Regions from separate parts of the Homo sapiens genome. Here regions 2 and 3 are each linked to region 1. The links are contacts of gene promoters, found by promoter capture Hi-C in blood cells and fetal thymus (Javierre and others, 2016). All regions are on one chromosome and are shown on one strand. Each heading gives the region's core, a stretch centred on a gene start or on the middle of the fragment in contact. The rest is flanking DNA. Distances are from core to core; before and after follow the strand shown. Region 1 holds the start of OPN5 (opsin 5). Region 2 overlaps LOC105375082 (a long non-coding RNA gene). Region 3 has its middle 48 kb from the start of CD2AP.

Region 1 (2,784 bases), core at 92-2,591:
GAAAGATAGAAACAAAGAGAAAAGAGAGAGAGAGCAAGTTTGACCCAACATCTGAAAAAATTAAAGGCAAACAAACCTAAAGACATAACCCACCTTCACACTGGTCACCCAAAGTTAAAACAACAATTTTAAATTTAAGAAAAGTATGGTTTCTTTTCTTAAATTTAAATAGGTGGTTAAATTAAATCCTAACTGTCTAGATTAGTGCTATCCAGTATAAATGTAATGTAAGCCAGAAATGCGAGCCACATATGGATTCTAAAATTTTCTGGTAGCCACATTAAACAAAGTAAAAATTTACAAAGTAAAAATTTAATTTATAAATTTAAAATTTACAGTAAATTAATTTTAATAATATATTTTATTTAGCTTAACATACCTAAAATGTTGTATGTTCAACATGTATTTAATTTTTAAAAATTATTAATGAGATATTTTATACCACTTTTTGTTGTACTGAGCCTTCAGTATCTGGTGAGTATTTACACTACAGCAACTTTCAATTTGGAAAAGCCACATGTGGCTACTGAATGAATGAGATCATGCAGTCTAGAAGCAGGTGCACCCTTTCGTCAATTATGCACAAAAATCTTTTGACCCCGGACTTTCTTCCATTTATCACCAACACATTTTTCAACTGTCACCAAAATGGCTTAGCTATTTTGATGCGACTTTACTTTTAGGTGAAGTAAACTCAGTGTTTCTGCCATTACTATAGTACTATAGCACAATAGCACAATTGAGTTTTGCACAGTTGTGAGAACAGGAGACTGACCTAGATTATTTTTAAGGCCCATTCTCAACCTAAAACTTATGATTATGTCAAAAACATTATTTAAAAAGCACTCTGTTTAAATAAAATATCATTATCATTAATTTTGGTATTCAGAAAGTAAATCTACTCCCAAAGTAACCAAAATGAAATGGATAAATAATTTTGCTGTAAGAGTTCTTGGATTATCAATGGAATTTTATTCCTAATAATAATGATAATAAAGAGTCATTTCTAGGAAACATTTATTGAATGCCATAATGCCATTCCATCTTCTGCCTTTCCCCACTCTTCGCCTCCACTAAACTATCCACTTAAGTATCAGAATCCTTTCACAAAATTAACATATCAGCCCATGAATTTTCTAAATGCAGCCTTTGCACAGAAGAATTAAGGAAGCTTACCAATTATTGTTAGGTAAAAGCCAGCCACTAAATCCGCTTCCCAAGAAAGTTTGGAAGCAAAAGGATCCCCATCTCGAAGGTAATGGGGCAGGCGCTCGTCCTGAGGCAGGGCAGTGTGATTTAACGCCATTCTGTTCTCGAACCACGAGGGATCTGAAAAGCAAACCAGTAGAGATCTCAGCAGACCTGAATAAGCCAGCTTGAACCATTTCATAATCGTGGCTCCTGTTTTAAAACAAAAAGCAAGTTCCCAGGGTCATGCATGATTCTCTAATTAATAACTGGTAAAAATTTTAACATTTTTTTCAATGATCCAATTATGTCATTACTCAGTTATTCGGTTGGCAGATTATCCAAGCCTTCATTTTCTCCTCTGTTTTCTCATGCTACTCTTTGAGCCACTTCTTTTCTCCTTGGGGTGATTAAAAGGTTGAAGGCCAAACTGTGCAATTTACTGTTTCTTAGCAATTTTTGTAAAGGTCTGAGCAGGAAATGATATTGTATGGAGTGTGCACACATACACACACACACACTATATATATATAATTTATGTATATAAATTATATATAATATATAAAAAATTTACATATGTATATATATAACTTGTCAGAATATAGTATTTTTTGATTATCCAGATTTCCCAGAAAATCATTTCCATTGTACATTCAATGAGGTTTAGAGTTTTGTAAGGAAAGAAATAGAGCATTCAGTACAAAGGAACATGGACACTTAATTAATTGAAGCTAAGAGCTAGGTGATTGTCAAAGTGATCTTGAAATTTGGAGCTATTTAGAAAGGATTCAAGCTGGGTTGTAACTCACAGGCACATCCACAGGAAGGTTTGTTTCTCAAGTTTCCTAGAGCAGAAAGCAATTTCATTATTTCTCACCACTGCCCCAAATCCATACTTTCTATTTGCTCATTTATGCTTCTGGATGAAATCTTGAGCATTGAGGAATTTCTCAGATACACAGGTCTTAGTACTGTTTCTTTTGAATTGGAGTTTTAAAAGGTTTACACAAAGTCTTTGATGGGCTTTCTGCAAAAATAAAAGTCACATGATATCCCTCATCCTGAAACTTGGAGTCGTGTGTTGTTCTTCAGATAAAGTATGCTGCTGATGTTAAAACTTCCTTTGGAAGGGTCATTCCTTTGTCATGATTGTTCCTATTTGTTTTGAAAGGGGAAGAAATACTAGTGTGGCTGTTTCTCTTTTGAACTTGCCTATTTCAAATCGAACCAACAGATGTCACTGTTCAGCTCTCTAGGCAACAATTTCGGGCATTATATGAGACAGCAAGTGGAACACAGAGTTGTGTGCCCCACAGGCGGTGACAGGGTGATCGGCACATATCTAACCATGTAATTCACCTTCGCAAAAGACATGAATTTAACCCCTTTCTAACTGCCAACTTACAGCTTACAGAGGAAGGCTAGTGACCCTTTCAGTGGCCAGTTGGCTGAAACTACAGTCTCCTACACACAGTTTGAGGACAGTCATGTGCTAATGTTCATTCCAAATCCTTCTCCCTGAGATGGTTAGAAAGCTGTAGGAGAAATCTTTGGCTGCCAGATGCACCACATCCCAAGACCTACCCCAGGTGAAAG
Region 2 (2,784 bases), core at 203-2,702, 390 kb after region 1:
TTCCCCCAGTTCCAGGCAGCACAGCTCACAGCTTTGGGAGAGACTCTTCCCCCTTGAAGAAAGGAGAAGGAAGAGTAAAAAGGACATTGTCTTGCAACTTGAGTACCAGATCAGCCACAGTAAAATGAAGGACCAAGCAGATCCCTAAAGTCCCTGATCCCAGGCCTTAGCTCCTGGATGGCATTTCTAAACCTGCCCTGGGCCAGAAGGGAACCCATTGCCCTGAAGGGAGAGTCCTAGGACTGGCAAGATTTATCACTTGCTAACTGAAGAGCCCTTGGGCCTTGAATAAACAGCTGTGGTAGCCAGTCAATACTTGCCATGAGTGTGGAGCTACAGTGGCTACAGGGAGAGACTTCTGCTTGAGGAAAGGAGAAAAAAGATTAAAAAGAACTTTGTCTTGCAACATATATGTCAGCTAAGCCACAGTAAAGTAGAGCACCTAGTAGATTCCTAACATTCCTGACTCTAGGCTCTGGCTCCTGGACAGTATTTCTAGACCCACCCTGGGTCACAAGGGAACCTGCTATTTTGAAGGGAAAGACACAAGCTTAGTTGGATTTACCACCTGCTGACTAAAGAACTTTTGGGCCTTGAACAACCATCAGCAGTAGCCAGGCAATGGTTACCACAGGCCTTTGCCAACTGCTAGTACTGTTCTGGCTTCAGGTCTGACCAAGCACAGTCTCAGTGGTGGTGGCTATAGGGGTGCTTGTGTCACACCTTCCCCAACTCCAGGCAGCATAGCATAGAGGAGAGACTCCTTTTGTTTGGGGGAGAATAAGGAAAGAGAACAGAGACACTGCCTGATAATACAGGGAATTCACCTGGGTCTTTCTCAAGACCAATAAGGTGATATCTATATGAGTCTGTAAGAGTCTGCATTAAGGGGCTTGAGGTGCCCCCTAAAGCAGATAAAGCTGCAGTGACCAAAGATTTACAACACAATACTCAATTCACTTTCAATACTTGGAAAGCCTTCTCAAGAAGGATGGGTATAAACAAGCCCACACCATGAAGACTACAATAAATATCTACCTCTTCAATGTCTAGATACAGATGAACATCCACAAGCATCAAGACCATCCAGGAAAGCATGACCTCACCAAACAAAGTAAAAATGGCAGTAGAGACCAATCCTGCAGAGGCAGAGATCTTTGGCGTTTCAGACAGAGAATTCAAAATAGCTACTTTGAGGAAGGTCAATGAAATAACAGATCGATGAAAGATCAAGACAACACAGAGAAGAAATTTAGAATCCTTTCCAGATAAATTTTAAAAAGAGATTGAAATAATTTTTAAAACTCAAGCAGAAATTCTGGAGCTGAAAAATTCAACTGATATACTGAAGAATGCATCAGAGTCTCTCAATAGCAGAATTAATCAAGCAGAAAAAAAAATTAGTGAGCTTGAAGACAGACTATTTGAAAATACACAGTGAGAAAAGGCAAAAGAATAAACAGAGTAAAAAAGAAGTGGGCCAGGTGCAGTGGCTCACACCTGTAATCCTAGCACTTTGGGAGGCCGAGGTGGGTGGATCATCGAGGTCAGGAGTTTGAGACCAGCCTGGCCAACATGGAGAAACCCCTTCTCTACTAAAAAAATACCAAAAATTAGCTGGGTGTGGTGGCATAATCCCAGCTACTTGGGAGCATGAGGCAGGAGAATCACTTGAACCAGGGAGGCAGAGGTTTCAGTGAGCTGAGTTTGTGCCACTGCACTCCAGCCTGGGCAACAAGAGCGAAACTCCATCTCAAAAAAAAGAAAAGAAAAAAGAAAAAGAAAAAGGAGGAAGTATGCCTATAAGATTTAGAATATAGCCTCAAAAGGGCAAATCTAACGGTTATTGGCCTTAGGACAGACACACACACACACACATGCACACACACACACACACACACACACACACACAGAGAGAGAGAGATATCAGGGTACAAAGTTAATTCAAAGGGATAATAACAGAGAAATTTTGAAACCAAGGAAAAGATACCCGTATTCAAGTACAAGAATAATGCAGAACACCAAGCAGATTTAATCCAAATAAGACAACTTCAAGACATTTAATAATCAAATTCCCAAAGGTCAAGAATAAAGAAAGGATCCTAAAAGCATCAAGAGAAAAGAAAATAACATACAAAGGAGCTCCAATATGTCTGGCAGCAGAGTTCTCAGTGGAAACCTTACAGGCCAAGAGAGAGAGTGGCATGACACTAACACGCTGAAAGAAAACAATGTTTACTAAAGTGCTGAAAGAAAACAACTTTTATTATAGGATCCTAGAGCTTTTATCCAGTGAAAATATTCTTCAAACATGGAGGAGAAATAAAGACTTTCCCAGACAAACAAAAGCTTAGGATTTTCATCACCATCAGACCTGTCCTACAAGAAGTGCTAAAAGGAGTTCTTCAATCTGAAATGAAAGGATGTTAATGAGCAGTAAGAAATCATCTAAAGGTACAAAGCTCACTGGCAATAGTAAGTACACAGACAAATCCAGAATATGATAACACTGTAATTGTGGTTTGTAAAGGACTCATATCTTGAGTAAGAAGACTAAAAGATGAACCTATCAAAAATAATAACTACAACAACTTTTCAAGACATAGCATAAAACAAAAAAGTTAAAAATGGAAGGATGTTGTTAAAATGTAGACTTTTATTAGTTTTCTATTTGCTTGTTTGCTAGTTTGTCTGTTTATGCAATATGTTAAGCTGCCATCAATTTAAAATAATGGGGTATAAGATGTTATTTGCAAGCCTCATGGTAACCTCAAATTTAAAAAC
Region 3 (2,784 bases), core at 135-2,634, 350 kb after region 1:
AAAAAGATCAGGTAATGCAATACAAAAGAGAGAAGAGTTTTAGATCTCGGCGGAACTTGCCTGTAACTCTTGAAATTTAGGAAGAAAAGCAGAAGACCCCTAAAAAGGGGATGAATTGTGCCTTTTTCTGAGTTCCTTGAGGGGTCTGAGTCATTAGGAGTTGACATAGTTTGGATGTGTGCCTAGCCCAAATCTCATGTTGAAATGCAATTGCCAGTGTTGGAGATGGAGCCTGGTGGGAGGTGATTGGATCACGAGGGCGTTTCTCATGAATGGTATAGCACCATCCTTTGGGTGCTCTCCTTGTGGCAATGAGTGAATTCTCATAAAATCTGGTCATTAAAAAGTGTGTGGCACCTCCCCTCTCTCTTGGTACTGCTTTCACCACGTGGTGTTGTTATAAATAAACTTTTGGTGCCGCAAAAGAAATAGCACTCGAATATAAAATTTTACTTTCAATTCTCAGCAAGGCAAGTTACTTCTATAGAAGGGTGCACCCTTACAGATGGAGCAATGGTGAGTGCACACTTGGACAAGGGAGGGGAAGGGGTTCTTATCCCTGACGCATGTGTGGCCCCTGCTGCTGTGTCGTTCCCCTATTGGCTAGGGTTAGACCGCTAATTTAAAGAGAGTGACGGGGTGAGTGGTTTGGTGGGAAAAATGGTTATGACAGAGCATGTAATCGGAATGTATCAGGGTGGAGTAGGTAATAGGAATGAATCAGGGTGGAGCAGGTAATCGGAATGAGTCAGGGTGGAGCAGGTAATCAAAAAAGGTTGCTTTAACAGGAAGTTAAGTTTAAAAGTAGAAGGCAAAAAATTGAACATACTAACATATTGATTCTTTGGAAAGAAATTGAGAACTCATATCTAACAGTGTGACTGCTCCCCCTTCACCTTCTGCCATGATTGTAAGCTTCCTGAGGCCTCCCCAGAAACAGATGTTGCTATGCTGCTTGTATAGCCTGCAGAACTGTGAGCCAATTAAACCTTTCTTTATAAATTATCCAGTCTTAGGTATTTCTTTATAGCAATGTGAGAACAGACTAATACAGCAGTCTTCTCTAGATCCTTCCATGTGGTATTGGAGATGACAAAAAGGAAGAAGTAGGGAGGAATAAAAATAAATGAGATAACTTGATTTTTATTTTTATTTTTTTTTTGAGATAGGGTCTTGCTCTGTACCCCAGGCTGGCATGCAGTGGTGTGATCATAGCTCACTGCAGCCTTGAACTCCCAGGCAAGCAATTCTCCCACCTTAGATATTGGCTTTTAATTAAGCTGACTTCTAATCAGAGAGCTCTTAAAAAAAAAATTCTTTCAAATCTCTTATAATGACTTTTTGGCCAGGACAAACAGTTGATATTTGTGGCTTTTGAACTTTTTTTTAACCAGCTATATCCTTCCAAGTGAAATCAATAAGTGTTAATCAAGGTTATGACTTAACCAAAGATGCACGAGGCTTCTCCAAAGAGGTTGAAAGCAGTCCTCAGAAGATCAGATGCCCTGATATGGTGTGGGTCTGTTTCCTCATCCAAATCTCAGGTCAAATTGTAATCCCCATTGTTGGAGGTAGGGCTTGGTGGGAGGTGATTGGATCATGGGGGTGGAGTTCTCATGAATGATTTAGCACCATTCCCCCTTGGTATTGTATGGTGAGTAAATTCTTACAAGATCCGGTTGTCTAAAAGTGTGTCACACCTCCCTCACCCTCTCTTTTTTTCTTGTTCCTGCTTGCTTGTTTTCTTGCTTGCTCCCACTCCAGCCATGTAAGATGTGCCTGCTTCTCCTTCACCTTCTGCCATGATTGGAAGTTTCCTGAGGCCTCCCCAGAAGCAGAAGCTGTTAAGCTTCCTGTACAGCCTGCAGAAGCAGAAGCAGAAGCAGAAGCAGAAGCAGAAGCAGAACTATGAGCCAATTAAATCTCTTTTTCTTAAAAATTACAGAGTTTCTGGGGTTTTTTATAGCAGTGCAAGAATGGACTAATACTGAAAATTGGTACGCAGGAATGGGGCATTGCTATAAAGATACCTGAAAATGTGGAAGCCACTTTGGAACTGCATAACAGGCAGAGGTTGGAAAAGTCTGGAGGGCTCACAAGAAGACAGGAAGATCAGGGAACATTTGGAACTCCCTAGAGACTGGTTAAATGGTTGTGACTGAAATGCTGATAGTGATTTGGAAAATAAAGGCCAGGTTGATGAGGTCTCAGATGGAAATAAGGAACTTACTGGGGACTGGAGCAAAGGTCACTTTTGTTATGCTTTAGCAAAGAATTTGGAGACATTGTGGCCCTGCCCTAAGGATCTGTGGAAATTTAAACTTGAGAGTGACAATTTAGGATATCTGGAAGAAGATATTTCTAAGCAGCAAAGTGTTTAGTATGTGACCTGGATGCTTCTAACAACCTATGCTTATATGCATAAGCAAATAAATGACCTGAAACTGGAACTTATATTTAAAAAGGAAGTAGAGCAAAAATACTTGGAAAATTTGCAGCCTGGCCATGTGGTAGAAAAGAAAAACCCATTTTCAGGGGAGGAATTCAAGCAGGCTACAGAAATTTGCATAACTAAAAGGAAGGCAAGTGCTCATAGCCAAGACAATGGGGAAAAGTCCTGAAATGCATTTCAGTCCCTTTCATCACAGGTCCAGAGCCCTAGAATGGTTTCTTGGGCCAGGCCCAGGACCCTGCTGCCCCCTGCAGCCTCATGACACTGTTCCTGGCATCCCAACTGCTGTAGCTCCAGTCATGGCTCAAAGGGGCCCAGGTACAGCTTGGGCC

What was found. Contacts are between HindIII fragments. The CHiCAGO score rates a contact against its expected background, and 5 or more counts as called.
Region 2: a contact is called between a fragment that was not itself captured here and the fragment with the promoter of OPN5 in region 1, in 3 of 17 cell types (non-activated CD4 T cells, activated CD4 T cells and total CD8 T cells). The highest score is 5.9, in non-activated CD4 T cells.
Region 3: a fragment that was not itself captured here is called in contact with the fragment with the promoter of OPN5 in region 1 in 1 of 17 cell types (naive CD4 T cells); the score reaches 5.1 in naive CD4 T cells.

The regions. Positions count from the first base shown.
Region 1 is chr6:47,780,589-47,783,372 of GRCh38, reverse strand. OPN5 (opsin 5) reads right to left here and starts at 1,341. Exons shown (of 7, transcript NM_181744.4): 1 at 1,177-1,341. The coding sequence starts at 1,306. The HindIII fragment of the contact is 3,260 bases long and covers 1,174-2,784 here.
Region 2 is chr6:47,389,377-47,392,160 of GRCh38, reverse strand. The region is part of intron 2 of LOC105375082 (a long non-coding RNA gene); the gene reads left to right. Among named protein-coding and RNA genes, the nearest start is that of TNFRSF21, 81 kb to the right of the region's middle. The HindIII fragment of the contact is 1,799 bases long and covers 553-2,351 here.
Region 3 is chr6:47,428,863-47,431,646 of GRCh38, reverse strand. No RefSeq gene overlaps it. Among named protein-coding and RNA genes, the nearest start is that of CD2AP, 48 kb to the left of the region's middle. The HindIII fragment of the contact is 934 bases long and covers 918-1,851 here.